2 separate regions of the Homo sapiens genome follow, and region 1 is linked to region 2. Evidence: promoter capture Hi-C in 16 types of primary human blood cells and fetal thymus (Javierre and others, 2016). All regions are on one chromosome and are shown on one strand. The core of a region is centred on a gene start or on the middle of the fragment in contact, and the rest is flanking DNA. Distances in the headings are between cores, read along the strand shown.

The links. Contacts are between HindIII fragments. The CHiCAGO score rates a contact against its expected background, and 5 or more counts as called.
Region 1: a fragment that was not itself captured here is called in contact with the fragment with the promoter of MOK in region 2 in 1 of 17 cell types (naive B cells); the score reaches 6.2 in naive B cells.

Annotation. Positions count from the first base shown.
Region 1 is chr14:101,698,536-101,705,273 of GRCh38, forward strand. The region is part of intron 1 of LINC02320 (long intergenic non-protein coding RNA 2320); the gene reads right to left. Among named protein-coding and RNA genes, the nearest start is that of LINC00239, 29 kb to the right of the region's middle. The HindIII fragment of the contact is 1,053 bases long and covers 1,602-2,654 here.
Region 2 is chr14:102,301,826-102,309,313 of GRCh38, forward strand. It overlaps MOK (MOK protein kinase), which reads right to left and starts at 3,339. Exons shown (of 12, transcript NM_014226.3): 1 at 3,137-3,339. The coding sequence starts at 3,143. RefSeq lists enhancers at 3,220-3,742, 3,509-3,558. The HindIII fragment of the contact is 4,511 bases long and covers 2,937-7,447 here.

The DNA.
Region 1 (6,738 bases), core at 878-3,377, 600 kb before region 2:
CAGGCCAATATCCCCAATGAACATTGATGCGAAAATACTCAACACAATACCAGCAAACAAATTCAGCAGCACATTAAAAAGATCATTCATCATGACCAAGTGGGATTTATCCCAAGACTGCATGCATGGAACAACATACACAGGTCAATCGATGTGATAGATCATATCAGCATAATAAAGGAGAAAAACCATATGATCATTTCAACTGATGCTGAAAAAGCATTTGATAAAATTCCATATCCTTTCATGATTTGAAAAAAAAAACTCAAAAACTGGGTATAAAAGGCACATGCCTCAACACAATAAAAAGCATGGCTTTCATGTTGAGATATGTTCCTTCTATACCCAGTTTTTGCATCCTTCAACTTTCATATATAATATATATGTATATATATATATATATATATATATATATATATATATATATATATATATAAGTTGATCATACTAATATCATAGTGAATGCGGAAAAATGAAAGCCTTTTCTCTAAGATCTGGAACAAGACAAGGATGCCCACTTTCATCGCTGTTATTCAACATAGTACTGGAAGTCCTAGCTAGAGTAATCAGACAAAAGAAAGAAATAAAAGGCATTCAAAATGGAAAGGAAGAAGTGAAATTATTTTTATTTGCAGATAATATGATCTTATACTTGAAAAAAACGAAAGACTCCACCAAAAGGCTATTAGAACTGATAAACAAATTTAGTAAAGTTGCAGAATACAAAATCAACATACAAAAATCAGTAGCATTTTTATATGCTAACAGCAAACAATCTGAAAAAGAAATCAAGAAAGTAATCCCATTTACAATAGCTACAAATTAAACAAAATACCTAGGAATAAACTTAACCAAGGAAGTGAAAAATCTTTACAATAAAAACTTTTATGCAAGATATTGAAGAGGACACCAAAAAATGGAAAGATATTCCATGTTCATGGATTAGAAGAATCAATATTATTAAAATGTCCATGCTACCCAAAGCAATCTACAGATTCAGTGCAATCTCTATTAAAGTACTAATGAAATTCCTCACAGAAATAGAAAAAAAATCCTAAAATTTATATGGGACCACAAAAGGCCCAGAACAGTCAGAACCATCATGAGGAAAAAAAAAAAAAAAAAAAAACTGGAGGAATCCCATTACCTGATTTTAAATTATACTACAGAGCTATAGCAATGAAGTAACAAAAACAGGATGGTACTGACATAAAAACAGACACATAGACCAATGGAACAGAATAGAGAACCCAGAAATAAATCCATACAGCCACAGTGAACTCATTTTCAACAAAGCTTTCAAGAACATGTATTGAGAAAGGGATTGTCTCGTCAGTAAATTGTGCTGGGAAAACTGGATGTTCATATGCAGAAGAATGAAACCAGATCGCTCTCTCACCATACACAAAAATCAAATCAAAATGGATTAAAGACTTAAATCTAAAACCTGAAACTATGAAACTACTAAAAGAAAACATAGGAGAAACTCTCCAGGACATTGGTACGAACAAAGATTTCTTGAGTAATACTTCACAGGCACAGGCAACCGAAGCAAAAAATGGACAAATGGAATCACATTTTAAAAAATCACATCATTAAAAAGCTTCTGCATAGCAAAGGAAACTAGCAACAAAGTGAAGAGACAATCCACAGAATGAGAGAAAATATTTGCAAACTATCCATCTGACAAGGGATTAATAACCAGAATATATAAGGAGCTCAAACAATTCAATAGGAAAAAAAATCTAACAATTTGATTTAAAATGGGCAAAAGATTGAATAGACATTTCTCAAAAGAATACATCCAAATGGCAAACAGCTATGTGAACAGGTGCTCAACATCACTGATCATCAGGGAAACACAAATCAAAACTCCAATGAGACATCATCTCATACTAGTTAAAATAGCTTTTATCTAAAAGGCAGGAAATAATGAATGCTGGAGTGTTGAGAAAGGGAACCCTCGTACACTGTTGGTGGGAATGTAAATTAGTGCAGCCACTTGGAAAACAACATGGAGCTTCCTCAGAAAACTAAAAATAGACAGGGCGCAGTGGCTCCTGCCTGCAATCCCAGCACTTTGGGAGGCCAAGGCGGGTGGATCACCTGAGGTCAGGAGTTCGAGACCAGCGTGGCCAACACAACGAAACCCTGTCTCTACTAAAAATGCAAAAAATAGCCGGGCATGGCGGTGCGTGCCTGTGATCCCAGCTACTCAGGAGGCTGAGGCAGGAGAATCTCTTGAACCTGGGAGGTGGAGGTTGCAGTGAGCCAAGATCATACCACTGCACTCCACCCTGGGCAACAGAACGAGATTCCATCCCAAAAAAGAAAAAAATAATCAAAAAACAAAAAGAAAACTAAGAATAGAACTACCATAGGATCCAGCAATCCCACTGATAGGGATATACCTAAAAGAAAGTAAATCAGTAAATCAAAGAGATGTCTGCACTCTCATGCATTGCAGCACTATTCACAATATCCAAGATTTGGAACCGAGGTGTCCATCAACAAAAGAATAAATAAAATGTGGTACATATGCACAATGGAGTACTATTCAGCCATAGAAAAGAATGAGATTCTGTCATTTGCAACCACATGGATGGAAATGGAGGACATTATGTTAAGTAAAATAAGCCAGGCACAGAAAGACAAGCTTTACATGTTCTCACTCATTTGTGGGAGCTAAAAATTAAAACCATGGAATTCATGGAGATGAGAGTAGAATGATGGTTACTGGAGGCTGGGAAGGGTAGAAAGGGGTGGAGGGTAGGGACAGTTAAGGAGTACAAAGATATATTCAGATAGAATGAATAAGATATAGTATTTGATAGCACAACAGGGTGACTAAAGTCAACAATAATGTATTAAATATTTTTAAAATAACTAAAAGAGTATAATTGGATTGTTTGTAACACCAAAAAAATGATAAATGCTTGAAGTGATGAACACCCCATTTCCCCTGATGTGATTATTACAAATTGCATGCCTGTATCAAAATATCTCATGTACCGCATAGATACATACACTGCTATGTACCCACAAAAATTAAAAATAAAGATAAATGAATAAGATATAAAAAGCAATAGGGGAAACTGAATGAAGGGCATATGAGAAACTCTTTGTGTCATCTTTGCAACTTCTCTGTAAATCTAAAAAAAAAAATCAGAGTAATTCACTACTTGTGATGGTTAATTTTATGTATCAACTTGACTGAGCCACAGGTGGCTCAGATATTTAGCCAAACATTATTCTAAGTATGTCTGTGAGGGTGTTTCTGGATGAGATTAACATTTCAATCAGTAGACTGAGCACAACAGATTGCCCTCCCCAATGTGGGTGGACCTCACCCAATCAACTGAAGACTTAAGTAGAATAAAAAGATTGAGTAAGAGGGAATGCCTCCTACCAGACTTGTTGACCTGAGACATTGGTCTTGCAGGCTTTTGGGCTCAGAGAGAAACATAACTCTTCTTAGGTCTTGAGGCTGCTGGCCTTTGGATCAGCAGCTCTCCTGGTTCTCCACCTTGCCCACTGCAAATCTTGGGACTTCTCAGCCTCCATTATCACATGAGCCAATTCCTTATAGCAAATCTATATCTATCTAACTATCTATCTATCTATCTATCTATCTAATATGGTTTGGCTCTGTGTCCCTGCCCAAATCTCATCTTGTAGCCCTACCAGGGCACTGCCTAGTGGAGCTGTGAGAAGAGGGCCACCATCCTCCAGATCCCAGAATGGTAGATCTACTGACAGCTTGCACCATGTGCCTGGAAAAGCTGCAGACACTCAACACCAGCCCATGAAAGCAGCCAGGAGGGAGGCTGCACCCTGCAAAGGGGCGGAGCTGCTGAAGACTATGGGAACCTACCTCTTGCATCCACATGACCTGGATGTAAGACGTGGACTCAAAGGAGATCATTTTGGAGCTTTAAGATTTGACTGCCATGCTGGATTTTGGACTTGCATGGGGCCTGTAGCCTCTCTGTTTTGGCCAATTTCTCCCATTTGGAATGGTTGTATTTACCCAGTGCCTATACCTTCATTGTATCTAGGGGCAGAATGATATGGTTTGGCTCTGTGTCCCCACCAAAATCTCATATTGTAGCTCCCATAATTCCCACGTGTTGTGGGAGGTACGCAGTGGGAGATGATTGAATTATGGGGCAGGTCTTTCCCATGCTGTTTCATGATAGTGAATGAGTCTCATGAGATCTGATGGTTTTGAAAACAGGAGTTGTCCTGCACAAGCTCTCTCTCTTTGTTTGCTGCCATCCACATAAAATGTGACTTGCTCCTCCTTGCCTTCCTCCAGGATTGTGAGGCCTCCCCAGCCATGTGGAACAGTAAGTCCAATAAACCTCTTTCTTTTGTAAATTGCCCAGTCTCAGGTATGTCTTCATCAGCAGAATGAAAATAGACTAATTATCTATCTATCTATCTATCTATCTATCTACCTACCTATCTATATCTATCCACCTATACCTATATCTATCTATCTATATCTCTCTATCTACCTATCCTATTAGTTCTGTTTCTCTCTGAAAAACCCTAACTAATACACCATATTCACAGAAAGAAAAAAATGAGAAAACTCCCATGATTATCTCAATAGATGCAGAGAAGGCATTTAACAAAATTAATGATTAAAAACTCTTAGAAAACTAAGAATAAAATAACACTTCCATGATCTGAAAAAGAAGTCTACAGAAACCATCATAGGAATTGGTAAAATGTTGAAAGTTTTCTCCCTGAAACCAAGAACAAGACAAAGATGTCCATTATCACCACCTCTATTCAATATTGTATTGAAGGTCTTAGTCAGTGTAGAAGGACAAAGAATGGAGATGAAAGGCATCCACGTAGAAAAGAAAACTATAAAACTGTTATTATTTGCAAATAACATGATTGTGTTATTAGAAAATCCAAATGAACCTACCAATAAATGATTTTCAGTAATAAGTGCATTTAGCAGCATTGCCGTATACAAGGTCAATATACAAAAATCACTTGTATTTCTACATGCCAGCAACAAATGTTAGAAACTTAGAAAAGCTTTTGAAAAACATAAAACACTCTTAGGTGAATGAATATAATGAAAGATGTATAAGACTTCTATGCTGAAAACTACAAAACACTATTAAGGGAAATTAAACCCTAAATAAATAAAGAATATATACTATGTTAATCATTGAAAGGCTCATTATTTTTAGATGTGAAATTCTCCCCAAAATCATTTAAATATTTCATATAATCACATCCAATTCCCAGGAGAAGTCGCTTTTGGTGGAAAATGATAACCTAACTCTAAAATGTGTATGAAAATGCAAAGGCTGAGAATAACCAAGGTGATCCTGAAGAAGGAGGAGGCAGACGATGAGGATGAGAAGGAGAAAACTGAAGGTAATTAAGACACTGTGATATTGGTACAAAGGTAGAAATATAAACCAACAGAAAAAGAGTTTAGAAACTGATTCGAAAATATACAATCCCCTGATTTATGACAAGGACACAGGAGAACACTGGAGATGTGAGGGTCTTGTCAGTAAATGCTGGTGTTAATTGGATATATATTTGGGAAAAAAAAAAAAGGTATCTTCACCCCCTAACTCAAATCATGTCTAACAATTGAGGTAGGAGGTGGTATTAGACTCTGGAGGTGAGGCTCAGACACCAGACCAAATTGAGGACTAGCTAAAACAGGTCTAGGGCCAAAGCACCTCCACATAAGACACACCCACCAGTGTGCCACGCCAGTGTACCATTGCCATGGCAACACCAGGGATTTACCACCCCTTTCCGTAGCAACAACCTGATAACCCAGAAGTTACCGCTCTCATCCTAGAAATCTCTGTATAAACTACCCCTTAATTTGCATATAATTAAGCATGGGTATAAATATGAGTGCAGACCTGCCTCTGAGCTGCTGCTCTGGGCTCACTGTCTAAGGGGTGGCCCTGCTCTGCAAGGGGCAGTCCCTCTGCCACTGCTGTGCATTGCTGCTTCAATAAACGTTGCTGGCTAACACCACCAGCTCACCCTTGAATTCTTACCTGGAGGAAGCCAGGAACCCCCCAGGGCTAAGCCCCAATTTGGGGGCTTGCTTATCCTGTATCACAATCTATTCTAGACAGATTGTAGATGTAAATAGTAAAGATGTTTTTAGAAAAGTTTTCTCTTTTGTTTTCAATTGAGTTAGTTTCTGCTCTCATATGGTTTTTCTGTTTGTTTTTTGGTGGTTTTTGTTTTGTTTTGTTTTGTTTTGTTTTTGAGACAGGGTCTTGCTCTGTTGCCCAGGCTGGAGTGCGATGGCACGATCTCAGCTCACTGCAACTGCCGCCTCCTGGGTTCCAGTGATTCTCCTGCCTCAGCCACCTGAGTAGCTGGGGTTATAGGAGTGTGCCATCGTGCCCAACTAACTTGGGGTTTTTTTTTGTTTTTGTTTAAGACAGAGTCTCACTCTGTTGCCCAGGCTGGAGTGCAGTGGCACAATCTCGGCTCACTACAACCTCTGCCTCCAGGGTTGAAGTGATTCTCCTGCCTCAGCCACTCGAGTAGCTGGGATTACAGGCGCCCACCACCACACCTGGCTAATTTTTTTATTCTTAGTAGAGACGGGTTTTGCCATGTTGGCCAGGCTGGTCTCGAACTCCTGACCTCAGGTGATCCGCCCGCCTCGAGCCTCCCAAAGTGCTGGGATCACAGGCGTGAGCCACTGCATCCGGCCTTATATGT
Region 2 (7,488 bases), core at 2,089-4,588:
CAATACTAAATATACTTTAAAAACAAAAGTTTACAAGAAGTAAATCATAAATGTACATTTTTTGTGTATTTTGTTTTGTTTTGATTTTTTTTTTCTTGTATTTTTTGGTTGAGATGGGGTTTCACCACATTGGCCAGGCTGGTCTCGAACTCCTGACCTCAAGTGATCAGCCAACCTCGGCGTCCCGAAGTGCTGGGATTACAGGCGTGAGCCACTGCACCCGCCCCATAAATGTAAATTTTATATGTATACACACATATACTTTTTTTTTTTTTTTTGCTCTGTTGCCCAGGCTGGAGTGCAGTAGTGCGATCTCAGCTCACTGCAACGCCCCCCTCCCAGGTTCAAGCGATTCCCCTGCCTCAGCCTCCCAAGTAGCTGGGATTACAGGCACCTGCCACCACGCCTGACTAATTTTTGTATTTTTAGTAGAGACGGGGTTTCACCATGTTGACCAGGCTGGTCTCGAACTCCTGACCTCAAGTGATCCACCCACCTCAGCCTCTCAAAGTGCTGGGATTACAGGCGTGAGCCACTGCACCCGGCCCACAAATGTAAATTTTATATATATATACGCATATATACATATTTATTTTCTTTTTTTTTGAGACGGAGTCTCTTGCTTTGTTGCCCAGGCTGCAGTACAGTGGCCCGATCTCAGCTCACTGCAAGCTCTGCCTCCCAGGTCCACGCCATTCTCCTGCCTCAGCCTCCCGAGTAGCTGGGACTACAGGTGCCCACCACCACGCCTGGCTAATTTTTTGTATTTTTAGTAGAGCCGGGGTTTCACCGTGTTAGCTGGGATGGTATTGATCTCCTGAACTCGTGATCTGCCCGCCTCGGCCTCCCAAAGTGTTGGCATTACAGGTGTGAGCCACTGCGCCCAGGCAGCATATGTACATATTTCTATATAGGTATACACATGCAGTGCTAACATTAGTCTTTTAAAAAGGGAGAAATACACATTTATATATTTATATATAATATATATAGAGAGAGTAAATTACTGAAAGTGATGCCTCTAGGTAGTGGGGTATGAAGAGTCTAAGAGGAAGGCCAGGCACAGTGGCTCGCGTCTGTAATTCCAACACTTTGGGAGGCTGAGGCGGGTGGATCGCTTGACGTCAGGAGTTTGAGACCAGCCTGGCCAACATGTTGAAACCCCGTCTCTACCAAAAAATACAAGTTAGCTGGGCGTGGTGGTGCACACCTGTAATCTCAGCTACTTGGGAGGCTGAGGTAGGAGAATCACTTGAACCCGGGAGGCAGAGGTTGCAGTGAGCCAAGATTGCACCACTGCACTCCAGCCAGGGTGACACAGAGAGACCCTGTCCAAAAAAAAAAAGAGTCTAAGAGAAAAAGAAGGTAGATAAATAAACCAAATGATCAAATCTAACTTCAGCAAAACTGCAACGAACTGACATCAGGCACTCTGGAAGGGCCACACTGACAGAGACACAACGTTGCCTCTCACATATTCCTGGTAAAAACATTTAAGCTGAAGCTAATCATGAGGCGAAAATCAGACAAATCCAAATTGAGCGATATTCTGCAAAACACTGGGCTGGATTCTTTAAAAATGTCATTTGGCCTACAGAGGACAGCCAAATAAAAATGAAAATATCATTGTCATGAAAGACACAAAAGGCAGGGACACCATATTAAAAGAGACCAAAGAGATATGACAACAGAATACAATTGGTGATTCTTGATTGGATAGAAAAAATATAAACAACTATAACACATGTTATTGGGATAAATGGAAAAACTGAAATATGGACTGTGTATCAGAGTATTGTATCATTGTTAAATTTTCTAAATGTGTTATTTGTACTGTGATGATGTAGGAGAATGTCCTTGTTCTTGGCAGATAACTGCTGAAAGAAGTGGTGAATTATTAGTAGTCTACAACTAACTCTTGAAAGGTCCAGTGAAAATAAATACATAAATGGGAGAGAGAAAACACCAGAGCGAAAGCGAGCACACAAAAATAAGGCAAAATGGTGCAGCTAAGTGAAGGACGGGTTTATAAATATTCAATGTACTGCTCTTGCAACTTTCCTGTACATCTGAAAATTTTCAAAACAAACAGATGGGAAGAAAAAAATGAATATAGTACAAAATATGTGCAGTATCATAGTCTGCACTGTAAGTAAAAGTGTAAAGTCTTTTGTAGACCTTGGATTCTAACTACAGCTTTGTAGTGCATTAATGAAAAAGGTAAACATTAAACAATATCCAACAAAATAAAATAAAAATAAAAATGCCTTGTAAAGGGTGAATGAGATTAATTATTTTAAATGTTATGCAATGTACACCATTGACAATTAGGATACAATGCAAATTTAACATTATAACTACTCCTAACATAATATTTTCACAGCAAAGGTCTGAATTTTTACTGCACCTCTGGTTCACAACCATAAACAATTATATCTGTACAGTAATAATAATTTTAAAAACATCATTCTAGCTGGTTGCACTTGGATTGTCAATAATCCACAAATCCCACTAAAGAAAATTTTTTACCCGTTACATTTTCTAGAATGACTACCTCATTTCCCAACTTTGAAGTAACAGCTTTTAACTAAAAGGTTGCTTCAAAACTACTATTAAAAAGTGGTTCCTATAAAACACTACTGCTTGACCCAAAAAATAAAATAAAGCACACAGCCCAGCTTTCCTCTCAATTGGTCACTAAACCAGTATCATGAAAAGGCAGGGAGCCACGCTGTAAGCGCTCCCCCGTTTTCTGCCGAATGTTCAGGAAAAGAGTGTCAGGTTCAAGCCAGCATTTAAAATAAAATAAAATGAATCACAGTCAACTCCCTAAACTCCAATGTAAGAACCACGCACCTGCACCAAAATATGCCTGAGCGGGAACTCGAGTCGGCTCTCCGAGACCCCAAAGTTCCCAACCTAGCCCCAACCCCTCAAGCTTCCCCCAGGGGCACCGGCTTCTCACAGCCGAGGGGGATTCGGGGCCCACATGCGGAGCCTCCCGGGCCTGTCGAGCCACGGCAGAAGGCGACGACGCCCGGCCCCACAGGCCCCTCAAGCTCCTCAAGCTCCCCCAGTCCCTCCCTCCCCCGCCACTCGCTCTCCAGTCCCTGCCCCTTTCCCCGGCCCCACTCACTCTTCATCTTGGATGCGGAAGCCGGTGACAACCCCTTGCCGACACTGGACGGAAAAGAAAGAAGCAGGAAGGTTGTCCCCCTGCTTTCCACTTCCCTGAGGCGGGGTCCCGCACTAGGATCTCCGTGGTGGTCCCTCGAAGGAGAGCGTTAGAGATCCCGCCGCCATGTTGTGTCCCTGTCACCCTAGCAACCGTCAGGCCCTGAACGCCATGAGCTGTCGCCTGCGCATGCGCAAGATGCCCCGCCCATGTACGCGTGCGCAGTGCAGCCCGTCCCCTCAGCCCGGTTGCTAAGCAGCCTTTCCTCCGCTTCCATGTAAATACTGTGCAAATCCCCGCCTTTGACACAGGCGACCTTCGCTCGGCTCGCTCTCCCTGCTGGCCTGGGAACTTAGCGATTTGGAACCCACTACGTGGACGATAGCCTTGAGCTTTAATTGGGCTTGGGAGCTTCTACAGGAATTTTTTTTTTTTTTTGAGACAGAGTGTCGCTCTGTTACCCAGGTTGGGGTGCAATGGCGTGATCTCGGCTCACTGCAACCTCCGCCTCCCGGCTTCAAGCGATTCTCCTGCCTCAGCCTCCCAAGTAGCTGGGATTACAGGCACCCACCACTACACCCGGCTAATGTTTTTGTATTTTTAGTAGAGACGGGGTTTCACCATGTTAGGCTGGTCTCGAACTCCTGACCTCAGGTGATCCGCCTGCCTCGGCCTCCCGAAGTGCTGGGATTACAGGCGTGAGCCACCACGCCCGGCCCAGTTTTTCTTTTTAATTCAACAAGCATTTGTTTTTGCCCCAGGAACTGTCGCAGGTATTGGGGATTAAAGGACAGTGTAGACGAGGTGACTGAGTTCTTGAAACTAACATTCTAGTGTAAAGATGAATGAATGTACACCGGAATGAACTATGTGCAGACACGGTGCCTAAGCAACACAGTGGCCTAGTTCTCTGGACCCTGACAAAACAATAAAATAACAAGCATACTATGTATGGGTATAGTATTTTATGAAGCTCATTAGATTAGCCTCATAATTATTCCATGAGATCAAAACCCTGTTTTTTCCTCCATTTTTTTTCTTTTACTAAAATACATCGTTTATTTTTAAAACAGATAAGTAGCCTTGCCAAAACGAAGCCTCAGAAAATTGGTTTAAGACTGAATTGGCCAGGTGTGGTGGCTCACACCTGTAATCCCAGCACTTTGGAAGGCCGAGGCAAGAGGATCGCTTGAGGCCAGAAATTCAAGACCAGCCTGGGCAACATAGAGAAACCCCACTTCCCTCTTAAAAAAAAAAAAAAAAAAACTCCGGGCGTGGTGGCTCACGCCTGTAATCCCAGCACTTTGGGAGGCCAAGGCGGGCAGATCACGAGGTCAGGAAATCGAGACCATCCTGGCTAACACGGTGAAACCCCATCTCTACTAAAAATACAAAAAAAATTAGCCGGGCGTAGTGGCGGGCGCTATAGTTCCAGCTACTCCGGGGGCTGAGGCAGGAGAATGGCGTGAACCCTGGAGGCGGAGCTTGCAGTGAGCCGAGATTGCACCACCTGCACTGCAGCCTGGGCGACAGAGCAAGAGACTCAAAAAAAAAAAAAAAAAAAAAAAAAAGCCGGGCACGGTGGCACATGCCTGTAAACCCAGCTATTCAGGAGAATAAGGCGGAGGTATCTTGAGACCAGGAGTTCTAGGCTCAGTGAGCTATGATAGCACCACTGCACTCTAGCCTGGGTGACAAAGCAAGACCTTGTCTCGAAAGAAAGAGAAAGCGGCCGGTCGCGGTGGCTCACACCTGCAATCCCAGCACGTTGGGCGGCCGAGGCAGGCAGATCACTTGAGTCCAGGAGTTCGAGACCAGCCTGGCCAACATGGGGGAAACCCCGTCTCTACTAAAAAAATACAAAACGGCTGGGCACAGTGGCTGATGCCTGTAATCCCAGCACTTTGGGAGGCCAAGGCGGGTGGATCCCCAGGTCAGGAGTTCAAGACTAGCCTGGCCAAGATGGTGAAACCCCATCTCTACTGAAAATAGAAAAATGAGCCGGGTGTGGTGGCAGGCACCTGTAATCCCAGCTACTCGGGAGGCTGAGGCAGAGAATTGCTTGAACCCGGGAGGCGGAGGTTGCAGTGAGCCGAGATTGCGCCACTGCACTCCAGCCTGGGCGACAGAGTGAGACTCCGTCTAAAAAAGCAAATACATAAATAAAATACAAAACAAGCCAGGCGTGGTGGCTCACACCTATAATCCCAGCACTTTGGGAGGCCGAGGAGGATGGACCAACTGAGGTCAGGAATTCGAGACCAGCTGGCCAACCAACATGGTGAAACCCTGTCACTACTAAAAATACAAAAATTAGCCAGGTGTGGTGATGCGCTCCTGTAATCCCAGCTACTCAGGAGGCTGAGGCGGGAGAATCACTTGAACCCAGGAGGTGGAGGCTACAGTGAGTCGAGATCCTGCCACTACACTCCAGTCTGGGCGACAGAGCAAGACTCCATCTCAAAAAATAATAAATAAATAAATGGTTACAATGGTGAATTTTATGTAAATTTTCTCTCAATAAAAAAGTTGAAAAAATAAATAGCGATTATTGCTGGTGTATTATTGTTGGTGGTGCTATCTTTGTTGGCTTTGAGAAGCCACATCTAATCTCTCCAGACCACTAGGATTTGATCTATCCCTTCTTCTCTTCTTGTGTTCTTTCTTATTTGGGGGCTTGCCCTTATGTCACATTTATATTTCTAACCCTGTCTCTTGCTTGTTAGTTTCTTCTAACCAGGTGGGTTCTAAGTTCCTTGGGCCCCTCATGTGTCTTTTCTCTACCCTGCAGGGCAGAGTGTATTAAATAAGTGAACAGGTGAATGCATTTAGCAAGTGAGAGCCCCATTGTTTCCCAATTCACCAGGTGCTGATGGATTTTCTTCTTCCCTTCATTGTGGACAAGTGGTTCTCAGAAGTGACGTTGTAGAGACCATGTTGGTCCTGATTGGGCAGATGATTTAGAGCAAGGTGCCCCCAGGGGGTAGACACAGTCTATGTGCTTACCTAGGTGAACAGGGGCAGCTGGACTTGCGGCCTCACCTGCCCCTCTGGCTGAGCACCCTTGTTCCAAGTTCATCTTAAGGTTGGGTGAGGGGACGAACTCCAGAATGTTCCATTCGATCAGGGATTTCCGCCCCATTATTTCTAAATCTGTAAGTCTGGAGTGGGGGATAGTTTGCAGCTCTCACAAAATTCCAGGTGATGCTGCACCAGTGGCCATATTTTGAAAACCACTGGCCTAGAGAATTCCTTATTCTTTCTTTAATTCTAAATGAAATAGGAAATGCTGCTTTGAAAAGAAGGAACAATTGCTGAGGAGCTTCTCTTCCTGTGGTAAACACGCTCAAACATCAGCGGAGGGGTCAACCTGTTCAGGCTTCAGCTGGGTGGCCTCAGCACCTGCCTAGCTGGGCCACTCCAGCCCTGAATGGACAGATAAGTAAGAAGTACCAGGCTGTGAACTCCTCCAGAGAGGGTCTTCACCCCAAGCCTCTCACCTGCCCAGCTCACCCAGAGCCAGGAGCCTGCTCAGCACATATTACATGCTCAGGAAACGCTTGTGAAATGGAACCACCACGCATCTCAGAGCTCTGCTTTTTTTTTTTATTAAGTTATTATTTTTAAATTTTTTTTTTTGAGACAGAGTCTTGCTCTGTCACGCAGGCTGGAGTACTGTGGCTTGATCTCGGCTCACTACAACCTCTGCCTCCCAGGTTCAAGCAATTCTCCTGTCTCAGCCTCCCAAGTAGCTGGGACTACAGGCACGTGCCACCACACCTGGCTAATTTTTGTATTTTTAGTAGAGATGGGGTTTCACCATATTGGTCAGGCTGGTCTCGAACTCCTGACCTCAGGTGATTCACCTGCCTCAGCCTCCCAAAGTGCTGGGATTACAGGCGTTAGCCACCGCGCCCAGTTCCAGAGCTCCGCTTTTAAAACTGTATGAACACTACCTAATTATAACCACTTGAGCTTTTTGAATCGTTCTAAAACTCCCTCAGACTGTTCATCCCATATTCTAGCATTAGTTTTTCCCTATTTGCCAATGTCAAGGGATTCAGCCATGTGGCTATGTTTAGCAGACAACCTATTTCCTTCTGCTGAGCATCTGAATTAAGGTTCAAACCAGGAAACAAGTCAGAAAAGCTAGGGATGACAGACATTTCAAACGTGTTAACACTGTTAAAGTGGGTAAAACGCAAATCTACCTAAAGATATTAGAAATTAGATTGATTTTGTAAAATAATAAACACATCTCAGGGAAAACTAAGCTTGAACAAGGATATTAAATAAGGAGGAGCAAAAACATT